2 separate regions of the Homo sapiens genome follow, and region 1 is linked to region 2. The links are contacts of gene promoters, found by promoter capture Hi-C in human tissues and cell types (Jung and others, 2019). All regions are on one chromosome and are shown on one strand. Each heading gives the region's core, a stretch centred on a gene start or on the middle of the fragment in contact. The rest is flanking DNA. Distances are from core to core; before and after follow the strand shown. Region 1 overlaps DHX35 (DEAH-box helicase 35). Region 2 holds the start of ADIG (adipogenin).

What was found. Contacts are between HindIII fragments. The study calls those that stand out against the background at their distance.
Region 1: a contact is called between a fragment that was not itself captured here and the fragment with the promoter of ADIG in region 2, in 1 of the 25 tissues and cell types used here (lymphoblastoid cells).

Annotation. Positions count from the first base shown.
Region 1 is chr20:38,969,866-38,976,132 of GRCh38, reverse strand. It overlaps DHX35 (DEAH-box helicase 35), which reads right to left. Exons shown (of 22, transcript NM_021931.4): 3 at 3,482-3,574. Among named protein-coding and RNA genes, the nearest start is that of DHX35, 11 kb to the right of the region's middle. The HindIII fragment of the contact is 6,927 bases long and covers 1-6,267 here.
Region 2 is chr20:38,578,667-38,585,180 of GRCh38, reverse strand. It overlaps ADIG (adipogenin), which reads right to left and starts at 3,984. Exons shown (of 3, transcript NM_001393816.1): 1 at 3,807-3,984. The coding sequence starts at 3,930. RALGAPB (Ral GTPase activating protein non-catalytic subunit beta) reads right to left here. Exons shown (of 30, transcript NM_020336.4): 30 at 6,323-6,514. The HindIII fragment of the contact is 13,860 bases long and covers 1-6,514 here.

The DNA.
Region 1 (6,267 bases), core at 1,694-4,193, 390 kb before region 2:
AAAAACTACCTTTGTTTGCCCACATTACCCAGCCTAGATCCTCAGCCTCTGCTCTTTCTCCTTCCCACCAGCTTTCCCTGGACTTAGTAACACAGCAGGCCCTCTCTGTTCCCTGGCAGCTAAGCCTTGCAGGAGTAAATGGCCAAATCACTGTGATATATTTATCATTGTTCCAAATACCTGCCACCCATCCCTATGGGAGGATTATATACACTGTCACCCCGTTGCTATCAGGCCTGGCCATATAACTTGCTTTGACCAATGAAATGTGAACAGAAGGCCCACTTTTGGTCAGAAGTTTTAAGAGCTGTCTCATGATTCTGCCATCTACCACAAGATCAACAAGTGCCTCATAAGAGCAGTACCATCAGCCTAAGGCCCAATGATGATGTGATAGAATCTCAAAGCCAACCCAAGATAACCACACAGTATGAGCAAGAAATAAACCTTTGTGTTTTTAAGCCACTGAGATTTTCAGGTTCTTTGTTACCAGAACATAGTTTATCCTAAGCTGACTACATAACGTCACAGACTAATTCCCAAACAATTCTGGAACATCATGTGGTCTTTTACCTCTGTTCTATATTCCATAACCTCATTACTCTCTACAGTGTCCTCACCTATAAAATGAAGATAATAATGGTATTTGCTTCATAGGGTCATTGAGGATTAAACAGATCAACATGTGTAAAATCACTTTATGTAGCACTTATTACTGTTATTACTTGTTATACTATTGTTATATTACTCTCTAAATGACAATCACACAGTAATTTAACCTTTCTCCTGTTTCTTCCTGTAAGAAATGAGTAACTTACTAGGCTCTCAATTCCATCTGCATATACGGTTATCTTTTTCCTCCAGGCCACCATTTCCTCTGCTGCATGCATTTCAAGTTGTCCTTTACTAGGTCATCTACCTTTACTAGGTCTGTCTACCTTTCCCTAGCTGTCTATTGGGAAACTTTAAAAAAATACCTACATCTGGGTCCCAACCTATTTATAAACCCATTATTCAAAATGGAGTTGGGGAGCAGACAAAAAAAAAGATCTACACAGATCCTGGCATGACCACAAGTCTGGACCAAACAGTCAACAACACATTGTTAACATATTCAAATATGCAAAGGGATTTTTATCATCTTACCCTTAGACACCCTTAACCCTAAAACCCTACCACTGGACGTGCTATCTCCAAGATGAATAACCCAGGACTGAACCAGTTCTCCTGCTCCCTGGCCGCTCTGTTGGCTGAAACTGCCACCTACCCACCTCTCCAGAAACCTCACTCTGTCTTTGCTTTCTCTAACCATGAAGAGTCTGCTGGTTCCTCTGTCATTTCCCTGGCTGCCATTCTATCTCCTTTCTGCTCCTGACTCCTGAATGTTGATGCTCCATGGACTTTGTCCTTAATCCTCTTCTCAGTTATTTCTGTTCCATCTCCTTCCTGCATGTATCAGGATGTTCAATCCCTATGTCCACACCTTCTACGTCTGACCTCTGCCAAGCTTCAGATTCCCATTCCAAACTTCCTGCTAATGTCATCAAAGGCCATCAATAATATAGGAAAAAATAAATATGTTTAAAAACACACACATTAATTTCCCCTCAAAAAAACAATCTTTACTTTTCTATCACATTTAATACTAGCACTGTTCGCCAAGGCAGCAAGTCGTGATCAGTCACTGTGCACCTTTGTCCCTTCCCCTTTGTCATCACAAATATCCATCTATTAGATTGGTGCAAAAGCACCAACCTAAGTTTCTAATGTCTACAGACCCTAACGCTAAAATTGTAAATTGTTCTCCTTCCCATCCTCACCAGATTATCCCACTATCACCTCTTGGTTGAGGACCCCGTTACACCATCCTTCTCTAGACCACTGCAATAGCTTTCTATGGCCTGCCTCCTCCAGTTTCTAAGTCACCTTATATCTCAATATAATCATTTATCTAAAGCTCAGCTTGTCATATTGTTTACTTGCTTGCAAACCCTACAAGGACACAACCACTTTGAATATCTTAGACATTATTTACTAAAGTTGAACACAGGATCCAGCAATGCTACTCTTAGGTAGAGCCCAGCAGGAGAATGTGCACATACGTTCACCAAAGACAAGCACATGAATGTTCACAGCAGCACTATCCATAACTAAAAACTAGGAATGACTCAAATGTCAGTAACAACAGGAAAAATAAACAAACCACAGAATACTCATAGAGTGGAATACTAACTAGCAGGGGTTAGCATTACATTTTACATTTCTGTAAAGGGCCAGATGGTAATTTTTAGGTTTTGAGGATCGTAGGGTCTCTGTCAAAACTGTTCAACCCTGTGTGGTAGCCTGAAAGGAGCCACCGGCAATATATCAACAAGTAGGAGTGGCTGTGTGCCAGCAAAGATTTCTCTACAAAACAGGCAGCGGGCTGCATCTGGCACACTGGCTGTGACTTGCCGAACCCTGCTATGCAGTAATGAGAATGAACAAACTGCAACTAATTCAACACCAAGGAAGACTCACACATAACGTTGGACAAAAGCAGCTATATTATTCCTTTATAAAATTCCAAATATACGCAAAACTAATTTATGAGGTTAGTAGCCAGAATAAGAGCTACCCTTGTGTTCATGATTGTAGGGGTAAGCAGACATGGCAGTTAGAGATGAGAACAGAACACAGAAGAAGAGTTCTTGAGGTTTTGGTAATGTTCTGCTTCTTGATCTGGGTGCTGGTAACACAGATGTATTCCACTTGCAGAAATGTATCAAGGTGTACAATTATGATATAGGTACTTTCCTACATATATGTCATACCTCAAGAAAATTAACATTAAAAAAGGAAGTAAGAACCTGCAAGGTCTCTCAAGCTCAGTCAGTCTTCACTCTTCAAGTTAAGGTTCTTAAGACACACTCTGAACTCACCCTACACTTCTCCACCCCAGTATTTCTAACCACAATATTCACTGGCTTGGAATATCTTCTCAGTCAGCTCCCAGTCAAGGTCAATTTCAAATGCCAATTCCTTTACAAGGCCTTTCTTGATCCTTCTTTCTACTCCTATCCACATCACATAGGATTTTTCCTAGTAAGAAAGGGTTCTTCCATAGCACTGCATAATACTATAACAGCCAATTTTTATTTACAACTACAGCAAAATTCATTTTACCCCACCCCTTCAACTGTAACTATTTAAGGATAAAAACTCTATATTTCACATCTTTGAATAAATCTCCATTGTAACTTTCAGAAGATGGCCATTCCATTACTATTTTGGAATTATAATAAATCGAAGACAAACTGTTACTTTAGTACTCACCAAAGAAATTATAAGCCCTAAAAGTTTAATAAAAAATATCTAGTTGAAGTGAACATTTCCTGAAAGGAGACCTTAAAAATGTAAATGATAGTAAAGAGAGCTCTCAAGTTACAAAATTCTTCCAGCCAAATCGAAGTGTAAAGACACTTATTAAATATGTACTCACCTGAGGAATCTGTGTGCTCTTCCCACATCCTGTTTCACCAACAATCACCACTGTCTGATAATTTTCTATCAAGTATAAAATATGATTCCTAAGCTGAAAAAGAATAACACACCTTGCAAATAGCCATACATTGTCTCAAAAGACCTAAACAACGATATTTAAACATTGTGAAATGAGCTGTTTTCAAAGGAAAGTGAATTTTAAGTAGAACTATCAAAATGTATTTCTAACCCTCAGGTACTGTTCCTCTCAGTATGAGCGAATACAACTGCAATCGTGTTAACACTTATCAAAATACATAATGCATACGCCCTTTACATTTTCACTTATAAGAAATTATAGGCCGGGTGAGGTGGCTCACGCCTGCAATCCCAGCACTTTGGGAGGCCAGGGCCGGGGGTGGATCATGAGGTCAGGAGTTCAAGACCAGCCTGGCCAACATGGTGAAACCCTGTCTCTACTAAAAATACAAAAATTAGCTGGGCGCAGTGGAAAGTGCCTGTAATACTAGCTACTCAGGACGCTAAGGCAGCAGAATTGCTTGAACCCAGGCGGGGGGAGGCTGCAGTGAGGCGAGACCATGCCACTGCACTTCAGCCTGAGCAACAGGGTGAGACTCTGTCTCAAAAAAAAAAAAAAAAAAAAAACAAAACAAAACAAAAAAAACAAGAAATTATAGACATACTGCTACATACTATATGTGTACAAAGACATAAATACAAGCATACTCATTGCAGAGTTGTTTATAATAGCCAAAAATTCAAACAGCCTAAATGTTGATCAACAAAAGTTTGGTTAAATCAGTCATAAAATATTCCAATAATGGAATAATTTGTAGTTATTAAGAAGAGGAAATATCTACTTGTACTGATATGGAATGAACTATAAGATATGTTAAGAAAAGGAAGTGAGATGTAGAACAGTGTGAATAATACCCTAGTAACTGCATTCTTCTTAGGGCAAACACGTATCTACTTGTTTATGCGTAGACTGTTTTTGGGGAAAAACAAAACAAAACAAGAAGCTGTCAATAGTGCTGCCCCCAGAGAGGTTGACATGTTCTTACACTAAGGACAATATACAAAGCAGAAATCAGGAGGCATTTATAAGACTGGGTCTAAACAGAAGTGAACATGGCAGACTTGCATCCAAGATAGAGTCACTATTGTCTATACAGCAGCCTAAAGAAGGCAGACAAGGGAACAGGTGGCCTCATAATGGTGCTGGGGAAGAGGCAGTGATCTTTAACAATCTCTTGATGCTTTAGTTCCAACATTGTTTTGTTTTGTTTTGTTTTTTGAGATGGAGTCTCGCTCTGTTGCCCAGGCAGGAGTGCAGTGGTGCAATCTTGGCTCACTGCAACCCCCACCTCCCGGGTTCAAGAGTTCTCCTGCCTCAGCCTCCCAAGTAGCTGGGATTACAAACATGTGCCACCACGCCCGGCTAATTTTTTATATTTTTAGTAGAGATGGGGTTTCACCATGTTTGCCAGGTTGGTCTCGAACTCCTTGTCTCAAGTGATCCACCCGCCTCAGCCTCCCAAAGCCTATAGGATTACAGCCGTAAGCCACCACACCGAGCCTCCAATTTCTGTTTTTAAAGCTACTTTTACTTTTTGTTTGAAAGGGAAAAAGGATGGCGTAGAGGTAACTTGTTTTCCTTTTTGTCTCGATTCATCTTCAACATCTTATAAGATCTCAACTGTACTTAAACTCTGCTTTGCTTTATATCAGTAACTTACACCCTTCTTCTTACCATTTTAATTTCATAAACATTTCTTAACTTCTTGTTGCTTTTTTTTTTTTCATTTGCTGTTTCATTTATGTTATCTTGTAAGTACAGTTGGGAGACAAAGAATAGTCAAGAAAAGGCCAAAATTTAAATACTTGAGTAAACAGTAATTTCCCTTGTACTTGAGCATTTACTACATGTCAGGTATCTTGCTAAATGCTCTGCATGGATGATCTCATCTGGTCCTCATAACAGTCCTATGAGGTAGGTGCTCCTGTAGTCCTACATCACAGATAAAGAAAAGAAGCTCAGAATGGAGAAGTGAGGTCACACAGCACACAAATGGTGAAGCTTGGGTTTGAACCCTGAAGTCTAGCTCCAGAGTCCGGACACTTCATCACAGCTCAAACTGTCCCTCAGTGGTGAGAAAGCAATAGTAAACCTATCATTTCATCTCCTGAAAGTCAAACTTGCTAACATTCATACATAGTGAATGTGTTAGTCACTTGAGGAAGAAACCCAGAGACAGTCAGTTCACTTGTGACTAAAATATTGGGAGCCACATAAAACTCCAAGTAAGGCAATCTGGCTAAATTAAGAAGGCTGCTGTTGCCTATCTGTTTGGAGAAAGAACACATTAATAGAAGAGGAATTATCAGCACAGTCTAGTCAAAAGAACTCCATGAGTATAAGAACTTGGCACCTTTTGGCTGCTCACACCTGTAATCCCAGCACTTTGGGAGGCCGAGGCAGGAGAACTGCTTGAGCTCAGGGGTTCGTGACCAGCCTGAACAATATAGGAAGACCCTGTCTGATAGATAGACAGACAGACAGACAGACAGACAGATAGATAGAACACAGCAACTTTCACCCAGCACCGTCCAGGAGAAAGAAAGAGACACAGATGCTGGTGGCCACACCTACTCGGGTCATTCCAAGGGCATCCTGTGGAGCAGGGAGAATTCACCCCTCATCAGGGGCTGTATGACATTTCTGTAACCTGTCTTGGCTCTGTACTTCCTGATTACAATTTGGCTTCCCATGTGGATGTGCCA
Region 2 (6,514 bases), core at 2,735-5,234:
CTTCTAGGATGAGGGTTAACCGAAGGCAGACATGTAAAACTCAGCACAGGACTTAGCACAGGCCTTCAACAGTGTTGGCAGTTAGTATGTCTTAAAAGTCAGTAGGGGCCGGGCACAGTGGCTCACGCCTGTAATCCCAGCACTTTGGGAGGCCAAGGCGGGTGACCATGAGATCAAGAGATCGAGACCATCCTGGCCAACATGGCGAAACCCCGTCTCTACTAAAAGTACAAAAATTAGCTGGGCGTGGTGGTGCGCACCTGTAGTCCCAGCTGCTCAGGAGGTTGAGGCAGGAGAATCGCTTGAACCAGGGAGTCGGAGGTTGCAGTGAGCCGAGATCGCGCCACTGCACTCCAACCTGGTGACAGAGCGAGACTCCGTCTCAAAAAAAAAAAAAGTCAGTAGGATAGCGTGAAGTGACTGTTCTTCACTAGAGAGAGTATTTTTTGAACATAGAGTATGTGCAAAGTGTTGTTACATTCATTTTCTCATCTGATCCTCTTAACACCTTCCTGAAGTCAATTACTAGTATTTTTTGTACTTTACAGATGAGGATGGTGAAATCACTTGTCCAGGCTCACAGCCAGGGAGTGGTGCTACTGGATGCAAATTCAGCCTCCCCACTCCACGGTTCCATTGGGTGTGTTTGGACTCAGAGGATTTAAAGGCAGCTTTGAATTGAACATCTTGCTCCAAGACCCACCATGAGGGGTTGTTGCGCCACTCTTCTGTTTCAGCCCCAAACCCATCTCTTTGGAGGTTTCCCTTCATCCTTCTGCAAACTCCTTTCAAATCGCAAAAGGAAAATGCCGGCAGCAGGGCATCTTCCCCTTGAAGGGTGTGTGTGGCTTCCTCCACCTTATGGCCATGTCATGGCCAGACAGTAGCACTGTCCCCACTGACCAGCTTCTGCAGGAGTTGAGCTGCCCATTATCATTTTTGCCTCAGTGCCAGTTTCATCAGGCAGCTCTCCTTTCCTCCCCATTTGCTCCTCCTTCGACTTGGGAAAGTGCATCCTGTCGGGTATTCCACGCTTAACCCTCTGTATTCTGAGGCCTGAAACTGCCCTGAGGAGCCAGCAGGAGTGTTGGGGGGTGGTGGGGAGGAGGCGGCAGAGCTACTCCTGTCTGCTTTTCAAACTGGATTTCAGGCAAACTGATTCCAATAAAGGGATCTGCAGCAGAATAGAAAACTGCAGGTCTGGGTGTCCTGACCCCTTAGCCCCCCAAACCCTGACATTGGGTCAGTTCCCAGCACAAGGGCAAAACACGCACAATAATACTGGGAGTTTTAGAAGACGGAGAACCTGAGGGAGGAATGCCCACCTCACTTTAAGGACGGTTTCTCTTCGTTGCAAAATTAACAAATGACTTATTTCAAAACGCCACATGACACCAGTAAACAGCCTCTCAGGAGAAAGTCTGCGGAGGGGTTGGAGTGGGGTAGGTTGTGGATGGTTTTGGAGTTGGGCCTCCAAGCAGAGTGAATGCTGGAGGAGACTCATGCTGCAGGCCTTGGCCTGGGTGGTAGGAGAAATGTCTCCTCTCTGGAGAAGGCATCCAAAGCCACACCACCTGCATTTCCTCCCACATTGACAAAACCAGCATTGGCTGGACTATTTTCTCAGCCTACAGGAACCTACGATGTGCCAGGTGTGTATGCGTACTGTGTGCCCTGCCCTGTAAGTACCCGATATGCATCGACCACTGAAGCCTGTCACAACCCCAAGGGGCAGGTACTAGTGTTGTCTCCATTTTGTAGATGAGAAAAGCAAGGCTCAGAGAGGTGTCCACAGTCATGCAGCTGGTAGGTGGCAGAGTCAGGATTTGAAGGCAGACAATTGGCTCTCTTAAGTAGTTCACAGATGTATGACCTTGGACAGGTTGCTTCTCCTCTCCTAGCCTCAGTTTCCCCAATTGTGATATTATTAAGTATTATTAAGCAGGGTTATTATGAGGATTACATAAGATTATGCAAGTCCAGTGTTTAGCACAAGGTCTGGTATATAGTCAGTGTTCCAAACAGGTTCACTATTATTAGGAACTATTAAGAAGCAAGGATGAGGCTGGGTGCGGTGGCTCATGCCTGTAATCCCATCACTTTGAGAGGCTGAGGCGGGTGGATCACCTGAGCTCAGGAGTTCGAGACCAGCCTGGCTAACATGGTGAAACCCCATCTCTACTAAAAATACAAAAATTAGACAGGTGTGATGGCGGGCACCTGTAATCCCCGCTACTTGGGAGGCTGAGGCAGGAGAATCGCTTGAAGCCAGGAGGCAGAGGTTGCAGTGAGCCGAGATTGTGCCACTGCACTCCAGCCTGGCTGACAAGAGTAAGACTCTGTTTCAAAAAATAAAAATAAAAAAAAAAGGATGATATCTGAACTCATATCTTCCAGACTCCAGAGAGACAACTTTTATCGCCAGTATGCAAACAAGGCTGACTCCCTACCAGCTGTGGGGCCCAATGCCTAAACCGTGCCCCTCAGGGAGGGCTGTGGTCTACCCTAGGACTATGAGGAGAATATACTTTAAATAAACACTTTCTAGAAACAAAAGGACATCCCAAGTTCTTGCCAGGAACTCCCAATAATTACATAATTATAAGCCCCTACATTTGAGATCATGGGGCTAGCAGGGGTGTGGGGAGGGACTTCTCACCCTGCCTCAACAACATCTGACCATTGCTGGCGGCATGTGCTGCGCCCTCCCTGCCTAGCTTGCCAAAGGTCATGGCACTCAGCAGCAGGAGGTAGGAGGTCAAGTGGTCCCCACGAAGAGGCCTTTTTTTGACACAGGGTCTCACTCTGTCTGCTGGAATACAGTGGTGTGATCTCGGCTCACTGCAGCCTCGACCTCCCAGGCTCAAGCAATTCTCCCACCTCAGCCTCCTCAGTAGCTGGGACCACAGATGCATGCCACCACACCTGGCTAATTTTTGTATTCCTTGTAGGGACGTTGCCCAGCCTGGTCTCAAACTCCTGGGCTCAAGCAACCTGGCCACCTTGGCTTCCCAAAGTGCTGGGATTACAGGTGTGAGCCACTGTGTCCAGCAGGAAGAGACCTCTTGCTGAAGGGGATGCTCAGGGAGACACATGCCAGAGGAGCAGAAGTCCCACTCCTGCCACACAGCCAGGCCATATCCTGATCCAGCCACCCCCAGCTTCCTCCACAGCCAGCTTCGTCCCACCTCTTGCTCCTCTTGGTGGCATGCTGAGGTCAGGGTGAATGTCAGCTGGCTTCCATGAGCCTGTCTCCCAAAGCAGCCAGATCCTTTCTGATACATGGCTTAGGCAGAAACAGTGAGTGGTCTGCAGGTATCTGAAAAATGCCTAAGGCTGCTGTATCCCATCGTGCAAGCTGTTTACTGCACAAAAGCAGCCAATTGAGAGGGTGAGCGGGGCTGAAATCCAGCCCACGCTCTGCTCACAGAGCCTTGCACCCCAGCTGAAAGGGGCACCTGGAAGTTCATCTGCCTGGAGCGATAACCTCTGATTTGTTCAAAAGATCACTCTCGAACTCTAGGTTCAAACTCTAGGACTCACTCTCAAACTCTAGGTTCAAACTCTAGGACTCACTCTCGAACTCTAGGTTCAAACTCTAGGACTCACTCTCGAACTCTAGGTTAAGAAACCCTAAACAACCAAACCAATCCTTTCCACTTAAGAGTTGACTGCTTGTATCTAAGCGAGCACTTAAAATGACTGAAGGAAGCCCCTTCTGCAGTTGTTTCAGGACACACTGGCCTATTTGGCCCCCTGCCTAGCTCCAGGATTAGGGTCCTGCCTGGACGGGGTAAGAAGCTCACCTTGGCTAAGTAAGAAGCGTAGCCAGATGATCAATAACAACAGCAAACCCACAGGGAGGCAGAACCAGAAAACCAGGAAAGAAAATGTGAGGTCGTTCACCAGCGGCATCAAAGGGTACTTCATGGCGCATGTGTGGCTAAGCTGGGCCAGCCTGGGCTGGGCTGGCAGGGCTGCCCCATGGGACCTGGCAGGCTGGGCCATGCTCTGCTCTCAGCCCAACTGTGACTAAGCTGTGACATAACAAAGAAGTCACAGTGTACTTCAGGCAAAGCATGCAGGGGACACTTTGAGGGAGAGCTGTTCTGGATGAAAGGGTGGGAAGTGAGGCAGTGAGACAGACAGTCTGGCTGAGAATTAAAAAGCCCAGGTTTCCAGGCAGGCCTGGGCTTGAATCTCAGTCCAGTAGCTATTGGGTTCATGACACCCCTCTGACCCTTTTTCTTGTAAGATGGAGATAATTCTGTTAAGTTAGAAAAATAGATGGGACAAAAATTACCCCCAGGATCGGTGTTCATATATCTGAAGTCACAGACCCCCTCCAGGAGCCAGCTGGGTCCCCAGGTCCTGTAATACCAGCTGTGGGTGCCCACGTCCACACTTGGTGGGGGTGCTGGGGACTGCGGCAAACTGGATGCAGCTTACTGCATCCTAAGCATGCAGTGATGGCAGCTCCAACCAATAACTGCTACAAGTGAAATGCAGGTCCATTATTGCAGGACTCCTAACTTTCCCAAGACAGGCAAAAAGTCTGGATTTCTGTGAAATCTCCCAAGTTTAAAATGTCGGATCAGACCTTGTCAAAGCACTGTTGGCTAAACAAAACGTCTGCCAGGCTGGATTGGTCACTGGGCTGCCACTGAAAACTTTTAAAATCTAACACATAGTAGATTATTCTAATTATTACTAGATTAAATGACTATAAATGATTATTACTTAATCTGAAAGCTTGTGCCTCTCCTTATTAGGGTTTTCAGTGAGGGGCTTCTAACGACTTGAATCTTGTTCCTTTATCTCCTGAGTGGCCAGAACACTTCCACATGTCATCCTCATCTTCTCCTATCTGTCATCCGTTCACTCATCAAGTATTCAGTAAACCTCCATGTGCCAGACCATGGCAGAAAGGAGGCTTCGGGCTTCCCACTGGAGTGGCTGCTGCATGGTATTCTCCAAGAGGACCCTTGGACCACCTGCCTGTGACTGCCAGCAGGTGGGTGGGTGCTGGAGTGTATTTATTAAACATGCCAATTCCCAGGCTCACCTTCGTCTCCTCAGACCTCTTGGGGGTGGGGGTGTGGCTTGGGATTCAACACACTGATAAGCAACTAGAATGATTCTGATGCAGGCTTGATTTTGAGACTACAGCATCTCATGACTTAAAAGCACCTGTTGAAAAGGCAAACCAGGTCCAGGCGGGGGAGCAGCTGCAGGAAGGGGGTGGTAAACTTAGGGAAAAACATGGAGTAGAAAACCCCCTTATAGGAAAAGACACCGATTCAAGGAGAAGGGCGCATGGGGCCAGCAACAGGAAAAAATAAGAGCATGGGAGGGGCTGGGAGAGCTGGGGCATGGTTTCAAGAGTCCTAGCCCAGCTGTGGGAAGGCCAGAATTCCTACAAGAGGAAGTCTGGGAAAATGGACTAGAATGAGTGTCCAAGAGGAGCAGTGCTCTGGCAGGGTGCTCCTGATGCAGGGCCCAGAGGCCAAGAGAAGGAGGAGCAGGTGGTCTGGGTTGGGGGTGATTCCCTGGAACTGGGTCCTGAAGGGGCTGCGGTCAGAGAGAGAGCTGAGCAGCATAGCTGGGAAAGGCTTGAGCACACATTTTTTTTCTGGCTACAAAACCTTTCCAGACACCAAAACAGGGCTACTGTGCAGTCAGCGTCTCTGGCCACTAGGCCCAGCTGGAGGTCCTGTTGTGCGTGGGCAGAGCAGGCAGAACACACAGTGCAAGGTAGGCAGCTCCCAGGCACAGTTCAGAGGGCACACGTCAGCAGCTCTTGGCAGAGGCATGGCCACAATGGTTCTCATGATTGTTTCAAGTGGTCCATTCACTCCACTATGTGTGATCCAGGCCTGAAGGCACTCATCTGGCTCCAAGATGCCCTTCACAAAGGGGGCAGTGGGCGGCAGGGGATGATCTCTGCACCTCCCCCCTTTCCTGACTGTCTAGTCCTACTAGGGCTCAAATTTTCTGCAAGCAGAGGGCACAGCTGGCACTTTCTTGCTCCCGTAACATAAGCATCTATCTCCTCAGCAATTCGCAGCCCCTGAAAGGTGAGCCTCTATTGGCAGTGTTTTAATTATACAAGCTCCTTCCAGCAGAGAAGGCCAAATACTTTTCTTAAAATTAATCAAACTTTGAGTATTTCATGAAATACTCATTTAATGTTCATTTAAACTACAGATCTAAATTATAAAGGGCAGCCAAAGCCGAGCAGACATCCCCTGAAAGGGTAAAATTAACAGCACCAGTGTAGGAGTAAAGCCTCAGCCTGTATCCAAAAGCACACACAAAGTTATTAGATAAGAATCTCCTTAAAATTTAATTGACTAAATGTATTACATTCAATATTCCATGGGCTTCTTCTGGACAAAGGATCGGCATAAATACAAACAAACCTCTGGACCTTCTTCCCTAACCGACGAAGATGAAACACAGGAGGCAAGGGGCACGGGCACGCCTTCATATTTACACTTTGCCTTTACTTTAC